2 separate regions of the Homo sapiens genome follow, and region 2 is linked to region 1. Evidence: promoter capture Hi-C in human tissues and cell types (Jung and others, 2019). All regions are on one chromosome and are shown on one strand. Each heading gives the region's core, a stretch centred on a gene start or on the middle of the fragment in contact. The rest is flanking DNA. Distances are from core to core; before and after follow the strand shown. Region 1 holds the start of MED22 (mediator complex subunit 22). Region 2 overlaps BRD3 (bromodomain containing 3).

What was found. The method cuts DNA at HindIII sites, captures the fragments that hold promoters and counts their contacts. A contact is called where the count stands out against the background at its distance.
Region 2: a fragment that was not itself captured here is called in contact with the fragment with the promoter of MED22 in region 1 in 1 of the 25 tissues and cell types used here (dorsolateral prefrontal cortex).

What each region holds. Positions count from the first base shown.
Region 1 is chr9:133,345,814-133,350,018 of GRCh38, reverse strand. It overlaps MED22 (mediator complex subunit 22), which reads left to right and starts at 1,888. Exons shown (of 5, transcript NM_133640.5): 1 at 1,888-2,097; 2 at 3,319-3,479. The coding sequence starts at 3,357. It overlaps RPL7A (ribosomal protein L7a), which reads right to left and starts at 1,801. Exons shown (of 8, transcript NM_000972.3): 1 at 1,773-1,801; 2 at 977-1,097; 3 at 319-468; 4 at 1-107. The coding sequence starts at 1,775. SNORD24 (small nucleolar RNA, C/D box 24) reads right to left here and starts at 623; the gene lies at 549-623. RefSeq lists enhancers at 1,380-1,849, 1,711-2,005, 3,310-3,811, 3,812-4,205. The HindIII fragment of the contact is 21,529 bases long and covers 1-4,205 here.
Region 2 is chr9:134,060,785-134,064,989 of GRCh38, reverse strand. All of the region lies in intron 1 of BRD3 (bromodomain containing 3), which reads left to right. Among named protein-coding and RNA genes, the nearest start is that of BRD3, 5.1 kb to the left of the region's middle. RefSeq lists an enhancer at 1,490-2,401. The HindIII fragment of the contact is 7,576 bases long and covers 1-4,205 here.

The DNA of each region.
Region 1 (4,205 bases), core at 639-3,138:
GTCCCCTTTGCCAGCAGCCTTCTTCTCGGCCCGGGCCAACAGTCTCTGCTTCTTCTCTTGCTTTGTCTCTGGTCTGTACTTGTGGGCCAGCTTAAGCAGCTGAGTAGCTGGAAAAACACTCTTCAGTTTAGGCTTGGAGTCAAGGTTCTAATCCTTGTCACTTAACACTTAATAACAAATGCTGGACTGCGGTCCTGCTATATGACTATAATTTAATGACAACTGCAGTTCAAGAAGCCTAAGACCATCCCCCTCATGTTCTGGATGAAATAAGGAATCCTTGCCTGAGAAACTCCTTTCCACGCCACAGAACCTCACCTGTTTGGCGGTCCAGGGCCTGGGTGAACTGGTTAATCGCAGGAGGCACTTTCAGCCGCTTATAGAGGATGGCTCTCTGCCGCTGCAACCTGATATAGCGGGGCCATTTCACAAAGCGGGTGAGGTCTCTTTTGGGCTGGATGTCCTGTCCTGAGAAGTAAAGGGTGACACCGAGTGAGGCTCAAATTCCATGTCAAGTTCATGTCTGGGGCCACTAGGAAGGGTGTTGGTGCATCAGCGATCTTGGTGGTTTAAAATGTCATCACCATCTCTCAGATAGCAAATATTCTTTTACATCATCTGCACACAAACACCTGAGAACAAAGAGCACGATGCTTTTCCTCATCTAACAAGAAGCCAAGGTGCCACGAAGTACAGCAGAATTGCAGTCCTAGTACCTCGCTGCGACACTGCTACTGTACTTGTTTCCAGATGGCTAAGCTGAATTCAAGGCCACTACCATATTGAGCTGAATGCTCGCTCAGCAACTCCCAATGAAAGCAAGAAGCATGTATCATTGCCCCCGTCTCTAAGAGACACAAATTAAGGACTGCGACCACTTTACACCCACTAAAACCTACAAGATACAACACAACCCAATTACCACCTTCCCTTGAGAAAAACATAGACCGTTTTCATTCTGCCGTTTGTTACTTACCAATGCCAAAATTCTTAGGCCTTTTCTCAAACAGGGGATTCACCACTTTCTTAGCCTCCTGCTTCTTCACGACAGCTGGGGCCGGAGCCACCTTCTTTCCCTTGGCCTTCTTTCCTTTCGGCTGGGCAGAAAGAAAACGTCAGTTAAACCGCCGCCTCCACTCGCTTCGTCGGGGGTAGGGCTCAGGCTGGCTCCTCCAAAACAAGGGACGCTGACAGCACCTGCCTGAACTAAGCTGGCGAGCAGCTTTCTGCAACCCCCCAGCACCACCCCTCGACAGGAGCATCTCACATTCAGCCGCACAAGCATGCAGCCCCGGGAACCCCGAGTGGCCAGAGCAAGGCTAAGCCCGAGACCACGCTCTCTTCGCGTCGCCCACCCAGGAGACACCCCGGACTCATGACTCCTCTGAGTCGCGGCCCCACAGGCTCTAGAAGCAACAGGGGCGGGCTCAGAACTCGTCGCTCACAAGGCCTCTGGAGCGGCCCCCAGCAAGCCCGAGAGACGCTAGGGCTCCGAGCCCCGCACTGCGGTGCTCCAGGCCTGCGACACCCAGCCCTGCGACACCGGGAACAACGCATTCCGCTCTCGGCCGCCCGGGGCTCTAGTCCATCTCAATGTCTCCGTGCCACACCAAGTGGGGCTCTAATCCACCTCGGTGTCTCCGTGCCACACCGAGTGGGGCTCTCCTAGCGCCAGGAGGAGCAGGAGGCCCTCCGAGGCCGCGCCTGGAGGAGGATGGCAGCGGATACAGCCGGAACCTGGCTATAGTGCCACGGAACTACAGCTCACTCACCATCTTGGGCGGCGGGAGGAGAGAGAAAGGAAAGGGAATTGTGGGTAATATGTATGCGGCCTCGGAGATCGCGAGAGTTGATACCGGCACGGGATTTCGGATTTAAAGCAACAGCATTCCTATAAAGCTAAAAATCGAGGCGGGGCCGAGAGGCTGCGGCGGCTGACTAGGTTTTCGGACCGCGGCGCGGCGGGGAAGAGAGACTGCGGCGGGAGGGCCAGGCCGTGGGAGAGACGCGGGAAAGTGCGGGTCGCAGAGGCACTTGACCACCCCGCCCTAGGCCGACCCGGCGGACGCGGCGTCTGGTGTGCGGGCGCTGGGGCGGGTATGAGGGTGTGGTGGGGGGTGGGGATGGAGGGGGGGTGGGTGTGTGGGCGGGAGTGGGGGTGGGTGGGTGCGTAGGCGCTGGGGTCGGAGATCCCCTTTCCTGCGTGTGACTTATTTCCCACACCCCGCCAAAAATGGGCACAAACAATGCGAGTGCGTCCAGGAGTCCGCTCGGTCGTGCGCCAGACTCCGAACCTAGGGGGCCCCGGGCCCTCCCTGAGCACCGCGCGCAAAGGCCCGGCCCCAGGGCCAGGCAACTCCAGCGCCGAGGCCGTCCAGTGCGGCTGGAGGGCAGAGGCCGAGAGGCGCGGCGCGGAACTTGAGCCCCTTGTCCCGGCGCACCGGGGAACCATGAGGGATGTTAAGCGAGGGAGTGGAATTACCCCCCTTTTTTTTTTCTTTTGGAGACGTAGTCTCCCCCTGTCGCCCAGGCTGGAGTGCAGTGGCGCGATCTCGGCTCACTGCGACCTGTGCTTCCCGGGTTCAAGCGATTCTCCTGCCTCAGCCTCCCGAGTAGCTGGGATTACAGGCGCCTGCCATCACGCCCGGCTAATTTTTGTATTTTTAGTAGAGTTGGGGTTTCACCATGTTGGTCAGGCTAGTCTCAAACTCCTGACCTCAGGTGATCCCTGCCTCGGCCTCCCAAAGTGCTGGGATTACAGGCGTGAGCCACCGCGCCCGGTTGGAATGACCACTTTTTAGGACCTCTTCCCTGCCGCGCAGAGACTGGAGGGAGCGGGGCCCGCAGTGCAGGGATGAGGTCTGGAGCGGGGCAGCCTGAGTGGGAGTGGAAGGAAAGCGTGGATGTAGGCGGTGCAGAGGGGTCGAATTGGAAGGACTCTTCGGATGGGAGGGCGTGGCGAAGGTGGCGGCGGGCTAAGAAGTTAAGCCAAGGGCTGGGGACGGGGAGCTGGTGTTGAGTTTGCAGGGCTCCCTGGGACACGCTGTGGGCCTGGACGTGAAGTCTGGACTGGAGCCCTGGACAGGGCTTGGAGGGCTGGCCAGGAGTTCCAGGATGAGCTTGCTCTGGCAAAGGCGGGGCCAGTCCTGGCACCCCCTGCGGTGTCTGCTGATGGAATGAGTTCATCTGTGTTTCAGTGATTGACTTTATTTGGCAGAAAGGGAATCCCCAGAAATCTGCGTGTTCTGCTAAGGTTGGGGCATAGAGGGTGGCTGGGGTAGACTCTGCCTGCACTCAGAGGTCTGTGCTGCACTCTAGGTCCCAGGTCTCCCCGCTGCGCTGCTTGAGGCTCGGCCATGGCCCAGCAGAGAGCCCTGCCCCAGAGCAAGGAGACGCTGCTGCAGTCCTACAACAAGCGGCTGAAGGACGACATTAAGTCCATCATGGACAACTTCACCGAGATCATCAAGACCGCCAAGGTGGGGGTGGGGTGGCCCACCAAGGGGAGCAGAGTCTGAGAAGGGGTGGAGACAGGAGAGGCCAGGGGCTGAGCAGCGCGAGTGAATAGTGTTCTAGGCAGGAAGCACCCAGTGCACAGGGAGCTGGTCAGTAGATAAGCAAACCAAATAATGGCACGTCCAGCCCTTACTAACAGTATGGATTTGGATGGAGATTTCACTTTTTAGTGCCTCAGTTTCTCCTGCATGGTGGGGTCCTTGTGATGACTGGTGAGTTTATCTGTGTAAAACAGTTACCTCGGGGCCTGGCACACAGCCAATGAGCAGGAGAAAAGCAGACTGAGGGGAGAAGTGGGGGGGGGCCTCCAGGCAGGTGGAGCGGTCAGCACTGGGGCCTGCAAGCCTGCTGACCACTGCAGCTACAGCTGCATCAGATTGGGCTGGATCCCTCCTGGCTGCTGCAGACCTGGCAGGCTCCATAAGCGATGATGATGAGGATGGAAGCTAGCATGTACTTAGTGCTTGCCATGTATCAAGCCACGTTGTGAGGTTATCTGTGCCTGTTCTGCTGAATCTTCATGAGGACTCTGTGAGGTGGGCACTGTTGTCCTCTTCATTTCAGGAGGAAACCCAGGCCCAGGAGACTTAGTGACTTGCCCAAGGTCACTCAGCTCACAACTGGCTGAGCCAGGATTTGAACCCACGAAGTCTGGGTCTTAACCACTGAGGGTACCTGACACCCACCCC
Region 2 (4,205 bases), core at 1,058-3,557, 710 kb before region 1:
TTGGAGCAGAAGAGATGCACAGGTAGCAAAGCATGATGGGGTGCCAGGTGCATTTGGGTCAGCGTTTGCCAAGAATGGCCTTGCTCCTGTGTTTTTGTTGGTACTGCCACCTTGTAGAGGTGCCCAGCTGGTGGCGGAGCATAGGGTTTTCTTTGCCTATTCTCCTTCCTGTGAAATCATGGGCACAGACATCATGGGCCCCTGTGCCCGGGCCTCCCTGCTCTGGTTCCTGGGCTCCTGCCATCTGAGAGGCTTGAGGGCTTGCTTATTTGTTTGTTTGTTTGTATTTTTAGTAGAGATGGCGTTTCACCATGTTGGCCAGGCTGGTCTCAAACTCTTGGCCGTGAGTGACCCACCCGTCTCTGCCTCCTGAAGTGCTGGGATTACAAGCGTGAGCCACCATGCTCGGCCAAGATGCTTGAGAGCTCATTTATTTATTTACTTATTTTGAGACAGAGTATCACTCTGTTGCCCAGGCTGGTGTGTAATGGCATGATTTCCCTTCACTGCAACCTCCACCTCCTGGGTTCAAGCAATTCTCCCTGGCTCAGCCTGCCAAGTAGCTGGGATTACAGGTGCCCGCCACCACGCCTGGCTATTTTTTTTAATTTTTTTTAATTTTTTAGTAAAGATGGGGTTTCGCCATGTTGGCCGGGCTGGTCTTGAACTCCTGACCTCAGGTGATCCACCCATCTCAGCCTCCCAAAGTGCTGAGATTACAGGTGTGAGCCACCATGCCTGACCGAGAGCTCTTTTAAAGAGAAAGTGTCACTTTGGGCCATTCACCTGTTGGTGGTTTAAATTGTAAGTCTTCTGGCCACTCCTGATTGAGCTCGCAGTGGAGCCAGGACCTGTGCGTGTGGCTGGAGGCTCGGACCCTGTTGTGTCCGTGCTGTTGGCTGTCTGCGTCTCGCACCAGTCTGTGGCTGTTCCCTGAGAGTCAGTTCGCAGGCTGCCTCCTCACAGGGCCTTCGGAGCCTGGTGTTGGGAAGATGGGGCGTGGAACATGCCCCCGCCCCCCTCCTTGCCGCAGGCCCCCAAGGTACTGAGTTCGTCAGAAGTTAATCCGGTATTGTGGGAGACAACTTTTCCAGCCACTTGGAAAAGTGTCCCGCTGAGGGTGCAGTGATGTTCAGGAGTCGCCGGCTGGATCTTTCTGAGTGTGGCTTGATAACCAGCTGCAGCATTTTGCAAAGCACCCAGTGGACTCGGGTGTGATCTGCAGAGGCGGCTGCTGGCCAGGCCTGGAGTCTGGGGCAGAGGGAGTGCCCTCAGTGCACCTGTGAGGACCTGGGACTAAGAGTCGGTACCTGGGAGCTGTGGGACTCTGGGGCGGGACGGCCTTAGCCTCCGTGTGAGCACTGACCGAGATGAGGCACAGATGCATCTGTGTGAGGTGCCCGGCCCCTGCAGGAGTGCTGAGTATTGTAGCTATAACCTGTCATGTGGCAGAAGGAAGAATCTACTATAAGCGGCTGAGAGGATGCCCTCCCTGTGCCATGCGTCACTGGAGCCTTGGCCTGACAATCCCACAAGGAGCAAAATGTGCAAAGGGGCAGCTGTGTGAGCCTGCGGGTCCAGGGTGCCACCCGCCCCCATCTGCCCACACCACAGGACAGAGCCCTGGGTATGCTGACCAGGCCCTCGCTGGTACCAGGGGCTGGGTAGGAGGCAAGGGTCAAGCACGGTGGCTCCGTGGGCTGTGGACTCACAGACAGATGTGCTGCATGCCCACGCTTTGCTCTTAGCTCTGCCTCCGGTCTGTCCCGGCAACAGGCCTGGGGGCGTCCTGCAGTCCTCGGCATTTGTGGTTGGGGGTGAGCAGAGAACATAGACGAAATAACCAAGGGGATGGTCTGAGAGCTGCGGCCCTGCTGGCCCCTTGTCCTGGCTCGGCATGGCTGAGTGGGACAGCAGTGAGGCCAGGCCTGTCTCCTGGGGCCGGGGTGTTTTGTGAGTTTGGTTCTTGTCAGGCCGGCTGAGAGGAGATGGAGCAGACAGATGGATGCTAGGTGGGCCTGCCGCAGCTTTGTTTTAGGAAGTGCGGAGCACCAGGGCCTGACCCTGAGGCTGTGTCCCTCTAAGAGCACGGTGTCTCCTTCCCTCTAAAGGGCCAGGTGCTGTCCTCACTCACTGCCCCTCTGAAGAGAGTCCCCTGCCTGAGTCGTGGCTCTCCTGCCCTTCCCAGACCCGTGGGAGACCCTGACTACGTGGCGGTGGCCTGGGGTTGGGAGGGCCTGACCAGTGTCTGTGGGGCCAACTTCCTCGTTCCCAGCATGTGTGGAGGGTCGGGCCTCCTCACGCGCCTCATGAGGGTCCCACGGGGGTAGAGCGTCCTTTGAGTCCTCTCTATTCGAGGAGTGGGTAGAGAGGCGGGTAGGGACGGAGCTTGGAAGAGGTGACGGGTTGTGGCCAGAAGGCTGTGGGGGCGTCATGGCAGGAAGGGAAACCTTCAGAGAGGCCGCTCACCCAGGGCCGTGGGGCCATGGAGAAGCACAGGCCCTGGGTTCAGAAAGCAGGAGGCATATGAGGTCTTAGGTCTAGAAGGCACTGGTGGGTGCAGAGTGGGGAGAACTGTGGGGTGCAGGGGACAGTCACGGGAGAGGCAGCGCTGGCAGCTGCACCTGCCCAGCGTGTCTGGGGCCATGCCCCAGGATAGCCCCACCAGTCTGCTGAAGCGCCCCGGGACAGGGCTGGGCCTGTAGAGCCGGGCCCTCCAGGCGGCCAGGCAGCTGCAGGAGAGCAGGTGCGCTGTGCATGGGGGGCTCACAGCACTGGGCAGATTCCCCTGGGGAGTAGGCGCCAGGGCTGGCCGTGCCTGCTTGGGTGGGGCCCACGATGCCCAGCTGCCCTCCCCAGGGCTCCTCCAGGGCTACAGGGGGCCCCCAACCCCCGACTTCTCCCCTGGCTCCATAGAAGGAAGCAGTTGGCTCCGTCTGTCACTGAAGGCAGCCCTGCCCTGACAGATCCAGTTTCCCGAGTCCTGGAGGGTGGCCGCTGGTCACCACGTGGGCTGGGGAGGCCCCTCTGGCCGCCTGGGGACAGGTGCTAGGTTGGCCGGGTTAGATGGGGCTGTGGGGGCAGCAGGCTGGGATCCCTTCTCACAGACTCAGCTCCCTCCTGCCACAGCCGATCACAGCACTGCTCCCAGCATTATCCCGAGAATTCTGGGGCTGTGGGGTGTTGGCGGTGAGTCTGGCATGGATGTCCAGCTTTGTTCAAGCTGGCTCTGGCCTTCTCTGCCTGGGCGACGTTGTGCCCCTTCACCTCTGAGCGTCCCCTCCACTTATGGAAGATGGGGCTCATCTGACCCCCACTGACGCAGGACAGAGTCCAGGAGACGGGCTGGAGTGCCCCAGTGGGGGCCATCCAGTCAGGGACACAGGTACAGAGGCCCAGAGCTATGGAAATTCCAGGGCTGGAGACCCATGGGGAATGGGGAGCCCCTGGGAAAGGCCTCCCCTAGCTTCCTCCAGCACCCCCACCCTTGGTTCCAGTGCTCCTGTCTCCCACCCTTTAGCTGGCAGGTCTGGTTGAGCCCCTGCAGAGCTATGTAGCCCTGCCCCTCCCTGCCACTGCTCCTCCAGACTCATGCTATAGCTGGAATGGCCTTGGTAAGCTGTCCTCCCAACCCTGCCTGTTTGCTGAAAGCTGGGACTCCCCATCCCTGGACCCCAAATAAGGACTTTTTGCTCTGGGCCCAGGCCAGGCTGGAGATGCCCCCATGGTCCAGCCGCTGCCCCTTGGCTGGTTTGCCCCAGGGTGTGGCATTGGAGGCAGCACCCCTCTGTCCTCCCTCTGTGGAGTGCCTGAAGGCTAGGCTGCTGTGCTGCCCAGGCGACATGCCTGCTCCTGCCCCTCTGGGTCTCTGCTCCCCAAGAGGGCCATGGAATGGCAGGAGGGGTCAGGGAGACTGCTACTGGCATTTCTGGGTGTTTTCTTTGGTGGCAACTGGACAGATTCCCATTCCCTCCCTGTTTGTCCACAGCCCTGAAACAGCCCTGGACTCAGCATCTTTTCTGATGAATTCTGGGCTGGGCCAGCCTAAAGGGGGCTGAATTTCTGCTTTTCATTCAGGTCCTCCTGTGCCCTATGGAGAGGAAGGCAGAGTCCAGGGACCTTGGGAAGGGTTCAGGGGGCCACCCACAGCTTCAGGGCCAGAGGTGGGCCTGCCTGGGGCCACACAGCAAGGGTGAGGATAGGTA